Regions from separate parts of the Homo sapiens genome. Here all the other regions are linked to region 1. The links are contacts of gene promoters, found by promoter capture Hi-C in blood cells and fetal thymus (Javierre and others, 2016). All regions are on one chromosome and are shown on one strand. The core of a region is centred on a gene start or on the middle of the fragment in contact, and the rest is flanking DNA. Distances in the headings are between cores, read along the strand shown.

Evidence for each region. Contacts are between HindIII fragments. The CHiCAGO score rates a contact against its expected background, and 5 or more counts as called.
Region 2: a fragment that was not itself captured here is called in contact with the fragment with the promoter of LINC00636 in region 1 in 1 of 17 cell types (naive B cells); the score reaches 5.1 in naive B cells.
Region 3: a fragment that was not itself captured here is called in contact with the fragment with the promoter of LINC00636 in region 1 in 1 of 17 cell types (M2 macrophages); the score reaches 5.6 in M2 macrophages.

What each region holds. Positions count from the first base shown.
Region 1 is chr3:107,881,662-107,885,029 of GRCh38, forward strand. It overlaps LINC00636 (long intergenic non-protein coding RNA 636), which reads left to right and starts at 1,544. Exons shown (of 3, transcript NR_015394.1): 1 at 1,544-1,645. The HindIII fragment of the contact is 1,611 bases long and covers 1,236-2,846 here.
Region 2 is chr3:108,353,899-108,357,266 of GRCh38, forward strand. It overlaps HHLA2 (HHLA2 member of B7 family), which reads left to right. Exons shown (of 10, transcript NM_001282556.2): 5 at 1,217-1,483. Among named protein-coding and RNA genes, the nearest start is that of HHLA2, 59 kb to the left of the region's middle. The HindIII fragment of the contact is 6,821 bases long and covers 1-3,368 here.
Region 3 is chr3:108,321,576-108,324,943 of GRCh38, forward strand. All of the region lies in intron 2 of HHLA2 (HHLA2 member of B7 family), which reads left to right. Among named protein-coding and RNA genes, the nearest start is that of HHLA2, 27 kb to the left of the region's middle. The HindIII fragment of the contact is 2,133 bases long and covers 591-2,723 here.

The DNA.
Region 1 (3,368 bases), core at 294-2,793:
GCATTTATTATGAGCTGAATAAACATTTGCTGGTCTAAATTTAATCTTTCCAGGATGAATGTTTATAGGCATAGTGAGGTAATAGTGCAACTATTCTGTATAAAGTCTACGGGTTTGGTATTAATAAAGGCAATACATTTTTGTCTTACTAACAAAACAAAATGGAATACAAGTGTTTTAAGTACGGTAACCAGCTTCCCCAAAGAAGTTAAAACTGAGAGTGATTGTTGACGGTTGTGACTGATGCTTGTTCTTGCCCCAAATGTTTCAGCACTAGTGCATTCTTTACTCACAGAATTTAGGTTCTGAGGAAAACCCTCATATGTCTTTCTGAGGATCATACACAGGAGACTTTAGCAGAACTAAAGCAAACGCAAAAGAATCCAGAATCTGGAATCTTCTGCATGTGATGCCACAGGTGACATTCTCCCACTCTGGGATGAAATAGACAGTTTCTCCCTTGCTTCTCCTGAAACCAGTACATTGGCTCAAGCTGTAGGCTCTGCCTGCAGGATGCACCAGCTCGTGTTTGAATTAAATACAGTGACTTGAAGAAGGAAGAACTCTACAGAGTCTACTCTGGCAACACCGGGAACAGAAGCAACAGGACATTCAGCTTCCAGAAACTGCAGCGGTGCAGTTCCAATGGTTTCTGGCCTCTACAGCCTGTATTCTTAGTGGTTTATGCTCCAATTTCTATACACATTGTTAGTAGCAGCGGTGTCTTCATGAGACTAATTCCGTGGTGTGATATTGTTTGAGGATGCTTATGTTCGTAGTCATGGAAATTTAGTGATTGCCTCCCCAGCATTCATTCTCTCTGTTCCCTTTCTGATGGGGACATGCAGATTGGTTGGGACTAATCTCACAGCAGCTCCAGGGATGGGCCCTAGTTACAGTGGTTGGGATGGCATTATGATCCAAACTTTGTCAAAAAGAGAGAAGATGTTTGATGGGGAGCATCTGGAGAATAAAATTATTCTGTCTTTCATGGATGCTAAAAAAAGATGCTCCCTTCATCCACTGGTTGTGAATCAGGAAGCAACCACCCCAGTTGTTCTGGTAACTATGTTGATATGGTGAAGCTATCAAAATAGTTTTAGGGCTATTCTGCCACTGGGGAAGGCTGAGACACAGAAAGGAAGTCGGTCCTGGGACATCATTAAACTGCTGGAGCAAGCTTACCTGAAGGGTCATCTGGTAAGCAGATATGGAGATGGAATTACCAGTGTCCAAGCTTTATTGAGGTAATGTTTGTGAAAGATAAAAGCAAGGCACAGGAAATATATGGGCAGCAAAACCCTTCAGACCTTGATCCAGGCCTGACACCTGTGAAAACAAAGGGAAACCCCGCAGGATTGGGCAGGAAGGGCCTCAAACTGTGATGCAGATTTCATAAAGTCTCTGCCAGCACCAAAGGGAGATCTAGAGCAAAAGCTGCTTGTTGGAAGAGTATGACAATGGGCGGAAATGCCCAGACACTAGTACTCCCACTGTACTTATTCGCCAGGGCTGTCGAGAAAGCTCAACACTGTTGTTCCAACTCAACACTGTAGAGGACCCTTAATGCCCACTGGCTGGCGGCTGTCAGTTACCGGCATCCTGCACACGTGGATAGTTTGTTCTTTTTTGAAGGGAGATCCAAGTAAGTAGTACACCTCCTTCCATTTCTGGGTTTCTTAAATTACTTGAACCACAAAATCTTTATATTATTACTGTTGTTGCTGTTATTATGATTTAAACAGTTAGACCGATTTTCTGTTACCTGTGAGCAAAGGAACTGTGATTGGTATGTGAAGTAATATTTTTAGATTTAAAAAGATTGTCAGTTCAGTTTAACATATACTTAAGAGGCAAGATACTTTAGTTATATTATCTCTGACCTTCAAAAACAAACAAATGAACAAACTCACAAATGCAGAGCTTATCACAGAACTGTTATGTGGTTGGAACTAATAAATGATAGCTATGATGATTCATCTCCATTTCAGTTATATTGCTCTTCAGTGTTTAATAATGGTAATTGGGTTTTTAGTTCCCAAAATGTGACTTTTTTTCTTGCACAGAAGTTAATGCTGATAGTTTCTTATGATTGTGTTAATGTTGAACTGACAAAAGGTATAAATTTTATAACTTAGTTTTTATAAGCCTTTACTTTTAACTCACAAATCTTGTTGCTATATTTGCAAATCTAATAATGGTGTAAGAATTTTAAGCACTTAACTTCATTTGTTATTTAATTAATGCTCAATTAGTTTATAAATTTTATGGATCAGATCTCTCAAATGTTAACAGTATATAGAAACTTTATTAACTAGATATTTTTAGACATTTCAAACAATTATTACCAATTTGAAAACCAGTTCTCCCAAATAATTCAAACACCTATTAAGCAAACTTACAAGTCTAACATGCAAGATATTTGCAATCTTTGTGAAAATCTAATAAATTTAATAAATTAGACAAATTTAATAAAGCAGATTCTCTTATCCATTTCAAACATCTTAAAGCAGATAAAGCATATATGAAGCAACACAATGACTATAAAATAGCTTACACATGCAAAAATCAATTCCACTTAAATCTATACTTCCTGGAGTTGGACACTTAGTTACCCAACTAAGAGGATGGTTACCCAAGTAACCATCATCAAGGGCCTGCTGTGGTTACTTGTGTAAAACTTGGGATCATCAGAAGGTTACCAACTCAGGTTGGGGTAGGGACTGTGGCCTGGGGACACTATCTAGGTGTTACTTAAAGAATGGTACTTCCTAAGCCACCAAATAATACCTTCCAAGTCTCCTCCTATAATCTGGTTTTAGTTGCTTCATCCCTGGCACACTCCAAGCTTGTAGATCTCAACTGGGATACAATTTAGTTTCACAACTCAATTTATCATGTGTCTGTCAAGTTTCATCTTTACCTACATTTTCAACTTTGTATTATTTGATTTCCATAGATGGAATCTGAATTCTCTAGCTATATTGTAACTTACATCTTTGCTGCCTGATTTGACATAAGAAATTCAGCACCCTCTTTTTTTGTGTGTCTCAGCTCTATCCCAAAGTAATTTTTGGAGAACAAAAACATCTTTTCTGCTCTTAAGTTGTTATCATTCTAGTAGAGAGAGCCAAGACATATACAAAAATCACCTACACTAAAAGGCAAAAATGAAGAAGACCATAAAAGTGTTGTAAGCAAATTTCTGTAAGATCACTGTGATAGAATTCTAAGATGGTCCCAATGAACGTTGCCCCCTGGTGTTACTCCTGAAATTATGTTACCTCACGTGGCAAAAAAAGGATTTTCCAGAGTAACTGAGGTTAGTAATTAGTTGACCTGAAGACAGGAAAGCTTTCCAGGTGGAC
Region 2 (3,368 bases), core at 428-2,927, 470 kb after region 1:
ATTTTTAACGCACAGCAACTTGTAGTATACTAATGTTATAAATGATACAACTGTTCCCCTGTTGGTGGGTATTCAGGCATTTCCAGTGTTTTACATTACATGGTTGTGATGAACATCCTTATAATTGTACTTAATACTGGGAAATAATCTGAAAGCAAAGTACCAGAAGATTTAAATGGGTTACTGATACTAGCAGCATAAGACTATCCACTTTCCCCTTAGTCTTATCAGTACCAAATAACTGCCAATATCATGACTGAAAAAATATTGAATTGCTGATTTAAATTGCATTTTTCTATATTATAAATGAGGTTAATTTTATATTATATGCTTTCCTTCTCTGTATTAGCTATATATAACACTATACCTATATAACTATAAGCCATTAATATAGTTAATACATACAGTTATATACAGTTAATATCACTCAGACAGAGCTTCATGGTGGTTATATTATACAGTTAATATAACTATATAATATATTAACTGTATTAATATATTAACTGTTGCTAATTCTCATAGTTACATTGAACCAAACAGGTATTAGATTAAAACTGAAGAAATTCAAAGAGCTTCATGGCTCCTAATTACCGGATTACCAAGAGTTCCTGATGATGTGCTCTGTTAATGATCAGGCTGCTGATCATTTATATGCAATATAGTTAGTATGCATTATAATATATAGAACAATCTTACATATAGATATATATACACACACACACATACATGCAGTATTTTCTAATGGGTTGTTTTTCCCAGCACTTGTTTCTTTTTCTTCTGTCCCTTTTAGCTGCTTCAGACCTTGATTCAGAAATCACAAAATTATGTGTAAACAGTCAAATAGGTGCTCTGAGTCAGTATTTGAGGAGTGTAGAGTGCCGCATGAACTCTACTTTATAGACTTAGACATCCTCATTTTGGTTTTTCAATGAGGCCATTAGATTTCTTTTCCAGCTATGTTTCTAGAAAATTGAGATTGCTAGTTGCCACATACCCATGCCTGCTCTTTTTTTATTTCTTCTAGATAACCACACTATATCTTAAGGTTCTACAGAGGTGTGTGTTTGTTGGTTTGTTTTCCCTTTCAGTAACTGCCAAGTTTTGCTCATAAAATTTAGCTTTTCATTTCATGGATATTAAAAAGTATTCTGCACAGACGGCCTATAAAGAAGCTAATGATGGCAGTTTTTCATGCGCCCTTCTTTCTCCTATGTAGTTTTTCTCACACCCGTGATGAAGTATGAAAAGAGGAACACAAACAGCTTCTTAATATGCAGCGTGTTAAGTGTTTATCCTCGTCCAATTATCACGTGGAAAATGGACAACACACCTATCTCTGAAAACAACATGGAAGAAACAGGGTCTTTGGATTCTTTTTCTATTAACAGCCCACTGAATATTACAGGATCAAATTCATCTTATGAATGTACAATTGAAAATTCACTGCTGAAGCAAACATGGACAGGGCGCTGGACGATGAAAGGTAGGCTCCACAGGACTTTCTGTGTACACGTGCTGTTTCAAAGTTGGGGGGTAATGGGGACTGATTTGCAAAAAAAGAAAGGAAGATGAAAGAAAAGAAAGCAAATCCATCTGCAGCGGTTAGAAGACCAAGACCGAAGCCCTAGGGCTGGTTCTTCTGGCTGTATTACATTAAGCAATCATTCTTACTTTTGAGCATTAGTACCTCATTGATAAAATAGAAGTAATTCTTACCTTGCTATGTATTTATGAGTTGAGTGAAAACATTCATGAAGTGGAAAGAAGCAAATCTATTCTTGAATATTAATGTATTTGTCAATGGCTCATCCTTCAAACAGGATTTTCTACCAGCATTGCTCTTTAAAAGATCAAAGGAGAAAGAATACTTGTCTTTCAGCAGATCACAACTTCCAATCTTACAATTAAACAAAATATTAATGAGTATTATTGCTTCTTTTTAGTTTCTTTACATAGTATTAGCCCATCAATCTTTATCCAACACCTCTATCACAACATGGTCAGTTTTTAGCGCTCGTTCCTCTCATTTATTTGAACAGATCCAAACTCTGATCAATCTCTATATCCAAAACCTGTTTAATAAAAAGTAATTTGCTATCTCCATATCCAAGTCCAAGAAAATTTGTTTTCCTTTTTTTTTTTTTTTTTTGAGATGGAGTCTCCCTCTGTCGCCCAGGCTGGAGTACAGTGGCATGATCTCAGCTCAATGCAACCTCCACCTCCCAGTTTCAAGTGATTCTCCTGTCTCAGCCTCCTGAGTAGCTGGGATTACAGGCACATGCCACCACATGTGGCTAATTTTTGTATTTTTTTAGTAGAGACAGGGTTTCACCATGTTGGTCAGGCTGGTCTCGAACTTCTGACCTCGTGATCCACCCATATCGGCCTCCCAAAGTGCTAGGATTACAGGCGTGAGCCACCGTGCCCAGCCTGTTTTTCATTTTATTAGTAACAAAGCAAAAATTTTCTGTCAGTCTCCCTTATAGGGGGAAAATGGAGGTTATCTTTTTTTTTCAGTCTTCTCTTTCCTAGCATCTCATATTCTCAAAATGCTCACCAAAAATATACTGAAATTGTGGGTGATTCACCACATTTACATGAGTCCAGTGTTAAAGGCATGAGTACCCAATGTTCATTCTCCATCAGTCAGGCAGCAATGGAAACATGGGAAAGGGTTGCAAATGTTAATATTATAAATATTGCCTTTGGAAAATCCTAATTTCTCATGTTCATTTAGAATTGAGTGTCTTGAAGCATGAACAGTTCTTTAGGCTCAGTACTGTTTGGTCTCATTGAAAAGCTATTACGTGCCAAGTTTTGTTGCTCACAGACTGTGAACTTAAGAACATGGTCTCTACTGATTTCTGGATCCACAGCATCTAGTACAAATATAAAAATTAAACTAGGAACATAGCTTACAAAGGGAGTGATTAATTCTATTCTCTGTGGTTGGACATGAATGGGGTTGTCACAGAATATGTGCTTAAGAAAGTTGCATAAGGGTAGAATTTTAGAAGAGTAGTAGGACATTCCAGGAGAAGAAGAATATTCCAGGTAAAAAGCACAGAAAAGTAAAATTGCCTGGATTTGTGGAATCAATGGATCAAGAGATGAACCTGGAGAGGGAGGCCAAAAACAGATGAAAGACCTTTTACACGTTGCTAAGGAGCTTGTTGAGTCTTGGAGGTAGGATAGATCAGAAGAGGGATTTGAACCATCAGAGAGGCCCTGGATTTGCCTTTTGGAGGGCTTACTTTGGCATCACTCTCCTGCAGGTAGACTGGAAGCCAGGTGAGTCTAGAGCCAGGGGGAACAGTCCATGACAGTCCATAGAGGTCAGCCTACAACACTACAGAACGGGAAGGACA
Region 3 (3,368 bases), core at 407-2,906, 440 kb after region 1:
TTGATGGACTCTTCTTTTTCCCTAGTTTTCTGAAATTTCAAAATGGAGTATCTTTGTGTGAATGCTTTCATCCACCACTTTTATTCAGTAAGCTTTTTTTCAGTAATAGCAATTCATTTATTATTCTGGAAAATTTTCTTAAATACTTTTGTTTTCTACCCTGTTTCCTGTTTTCTCTTTTTCTCTAGATTTTTTAGAGTTGTCACCTGATTTTAAAAATCTTTTTTGCTTATTTTCTGCCTCTGTGTCTATTTACTGTCTAGGAGACAGTCTCTACTTTATTTTCTAACCCTGTTAATGACTTCTGCTCTTATGTTCTCAATTCCAAGATGTCTTTTCTGTTAATTTCTTATGCCATTCTGTTCCTTTTTTATGAATGTAACTTTTTCTTATCTCTCTGAAGATGTTAGTTATAGTTTTATTTCATTTGTTTTTGTTGATTTTCACCCTCGCTTGCTTGCATATTTTTATTTACTCCAGGATGTCTTTTTGTAAGGGAGGTTGGTTTCATTTATTTCTGTCTTCTGTGACAGCTTTCCTCAGGGTATCTGGTAATCCCTCAATGTCTGCTTAACATTAAGAATGAGGGAAGCTTATTGGAGGCTCTAAGAGCTCGGACTGTGGGCCATGCCTCTCAGGCGGAAGTCACTGGAGGGTGATACAGGCTGGGTCTCTGTGTTCAGCATTAGATATCTGTTTGATAAATTAGTCTTAACCTCTACCTTAACTCTAATCTGTGCCTGGACCATCAATTCAGACATTATTATGCTTTGTTTCTCCATGGATTTCTCCAAAGAAAGGGGCAATTGTTCAGTAAAGTGGAGTGCAGGAGAGAATCTAGGGGGTTTAACTTCTTAAATCGTTTAAGAGTCTGACTCCATTTTTATCTTTGACTGCTGAGAGCTTTCATGCCCACCTCCTCTTTCCTCTTCTGCCTCATATTTGAGCAAGTTGGTAAGAAAGCTGGTGCTGCCCCCTGGACACAGCAGAAAGTTCAACCTATGTGGGGGAGTGGATTTTCCCTCATCCAACCGCCTATCTATGATAAAAACCAAGTCTACTTATTCTCATTCTTGCTTTCGAAACGTTCTCAAGCTCATTCCAGACTAGCCTGGGTGTTGTCCCACTATGTTTAGAAAGTTCCATGATGTAATACAATGTGTTCTCACCTCTTGGTGTGTACATGGCGTCATCAGTCAGGACGTCTCACCTATTAATTGGGAGGGGTTCATCCCACCTGCATTGGATGGCTGTAAGAAATAGCTTTCCTATGAGGTTTTCTTATCTTAGTCTTTTTCTTTTTTTTCCATTACCAGTTCCAAAGCAGTTCCTATGTCTTTTGAGTACTATATGGTACAAGTTGGTGGACTTTCACATTTTCCCATTAACTACAGATTCATTTTCTTGGGTTTACTAAGTCAGTTACTACTTGCCCATTTTTCTCTAGTTTCCAAATTTTTGCTGACTTTTTTGTTTGTTTGTTTGTTTGTTTTGACCTCACCTCTTTTTCTGCTTTATCCATTTCTTAAAAAACAAAAACAATCCTTCCCATAGTGGGGGGGTCTGTGGTTGGGGGGCAGTGAGGTGGGGATGGTTAATGGAATAGAAAGAATGAATAAGACCTACTATTTGGTAACACAACAGGGCGGCTATAGTCAATAACTTAATTGTACAATTTTAAGTAACTGAAAGAGTATAATTGGATTGTTTTTAACTCAAAGGATAATTGCTTGAGGGGATGGATACCCCTATTCTCCATGATGTGCTTATTTCACATGCATGCCTGTATCAAAACTTCTCATGTACCCCATAAATATATATACCTACTGTGTACCCATAAAAATTTAAAAAATTTGAAAAGAAAAATCCCTTCCCTAAATTTTTATTGAGTTAAGGAGATAAGAAACAAAATTATAAACATGTATTTAAGCTGCTGTCTTTACCCAGAAATCCTGAGTGGGCTCATCTCTTCACACCTTGTCAACAATGGGTGCTTTTCTCATTTATTTAGTAAATGGATTTCCCTGAAATCCGTACTATGTTCTAATTGCTTTGACAACTGAGATTATTCATATTATTGGATTCTGGTCTAAACTACTTGTTCATATAACTAAAAGCCTAAAGGACAATTTCATGATTTGTGGCAGATTCTCACATTTAGCCATTTGGTTTACCCTAAATTTGCTTCCATTTTTTAGTAGTGCTCTATTGTAATGCAGATGGAAAACATCACAATGTTCTAGAAGGGAACTGAAATGAAAATGAATTATCTATACCTATCTCCACTCCACTTATGTAAGGGAAATTGAAAGATAATCACTTCATGGGTATCCATTTAAAATAAAAGCCACTTTTCTTTTCTTATTGCTTGTGAAAATTCAACCCATCTTTTGAACAAATTTAGCAGTGATTTACAATTTTTGGTTAAAAATGCCAGACTTAAGATTTCAAAATGCACTCCTTTGTTAGAAAACAATGATTTCATCAAATGGTAACCCTACTTTGTCTTAATAGTTAATTCACAGGTTGGTGAATCTATTTATTATTAAATGTAATTCAAAGGTTATTTTCACAGTAAAAGCATACAGATAAAAATTAGCCCCTTCTCATAAATACCAGAGTCCTAGTCTCCCCTCTCAGAGGCAGTGGACTACATTAAATTTATTATTACATACGTTTTGAGAAATTATTTATGTGAATACAAGCATATATATGAATATGTAAGCTTTTTTCATATAACAAGAGCATTTTTGCTGTTCCATGCCTTATTTTATTAACTGTACATTTCTGAAGATTTGACTGTATCAGCACATTTAGATCTTCCTTATACTTTTAATATTTTTGTGAAAATAGAATAAATACAGAGAAGTGCACAAAACATAGCTAAATGAATCAACACAAAACAAAAGCCCACAAGATAACCACCTGGTTTGCCAGGCAATCAAGCACTCCTAGGCTTTCACAAGGCTCCTTCATGTCCCCTCCAAGTCACTACCTTCTCTGTCTCTGTCAAAGGAAAATACTTTCTAGCTTCTAGCTTCTATGGTAATCCTGTCCTTGCTTTTCTTTAGTGTTATACCTAGGTGTACATCCTTAAACAGTACAGTTAAGTTTTGCCTGTTTTCAGAATGTCAGGTAATTCAAATCATACAGTAGGAGTTATTTTGTGTCTGACTTACTCCGTGCTTTCTATTCATCTCATCTATTCTAGGGCTTTTATATGCTCTAAATTTTTCCTTCTTTCTGGGCCTTGCTGCAAATTTGTAATTCTGTTTCTCCCCCTACCTCTTTAGAAGTTATGCATTCTATAGTTCTTTTACTTGTGAACCACCAAATTATGATATACTTCATTGGTTCTTAAAACCTTA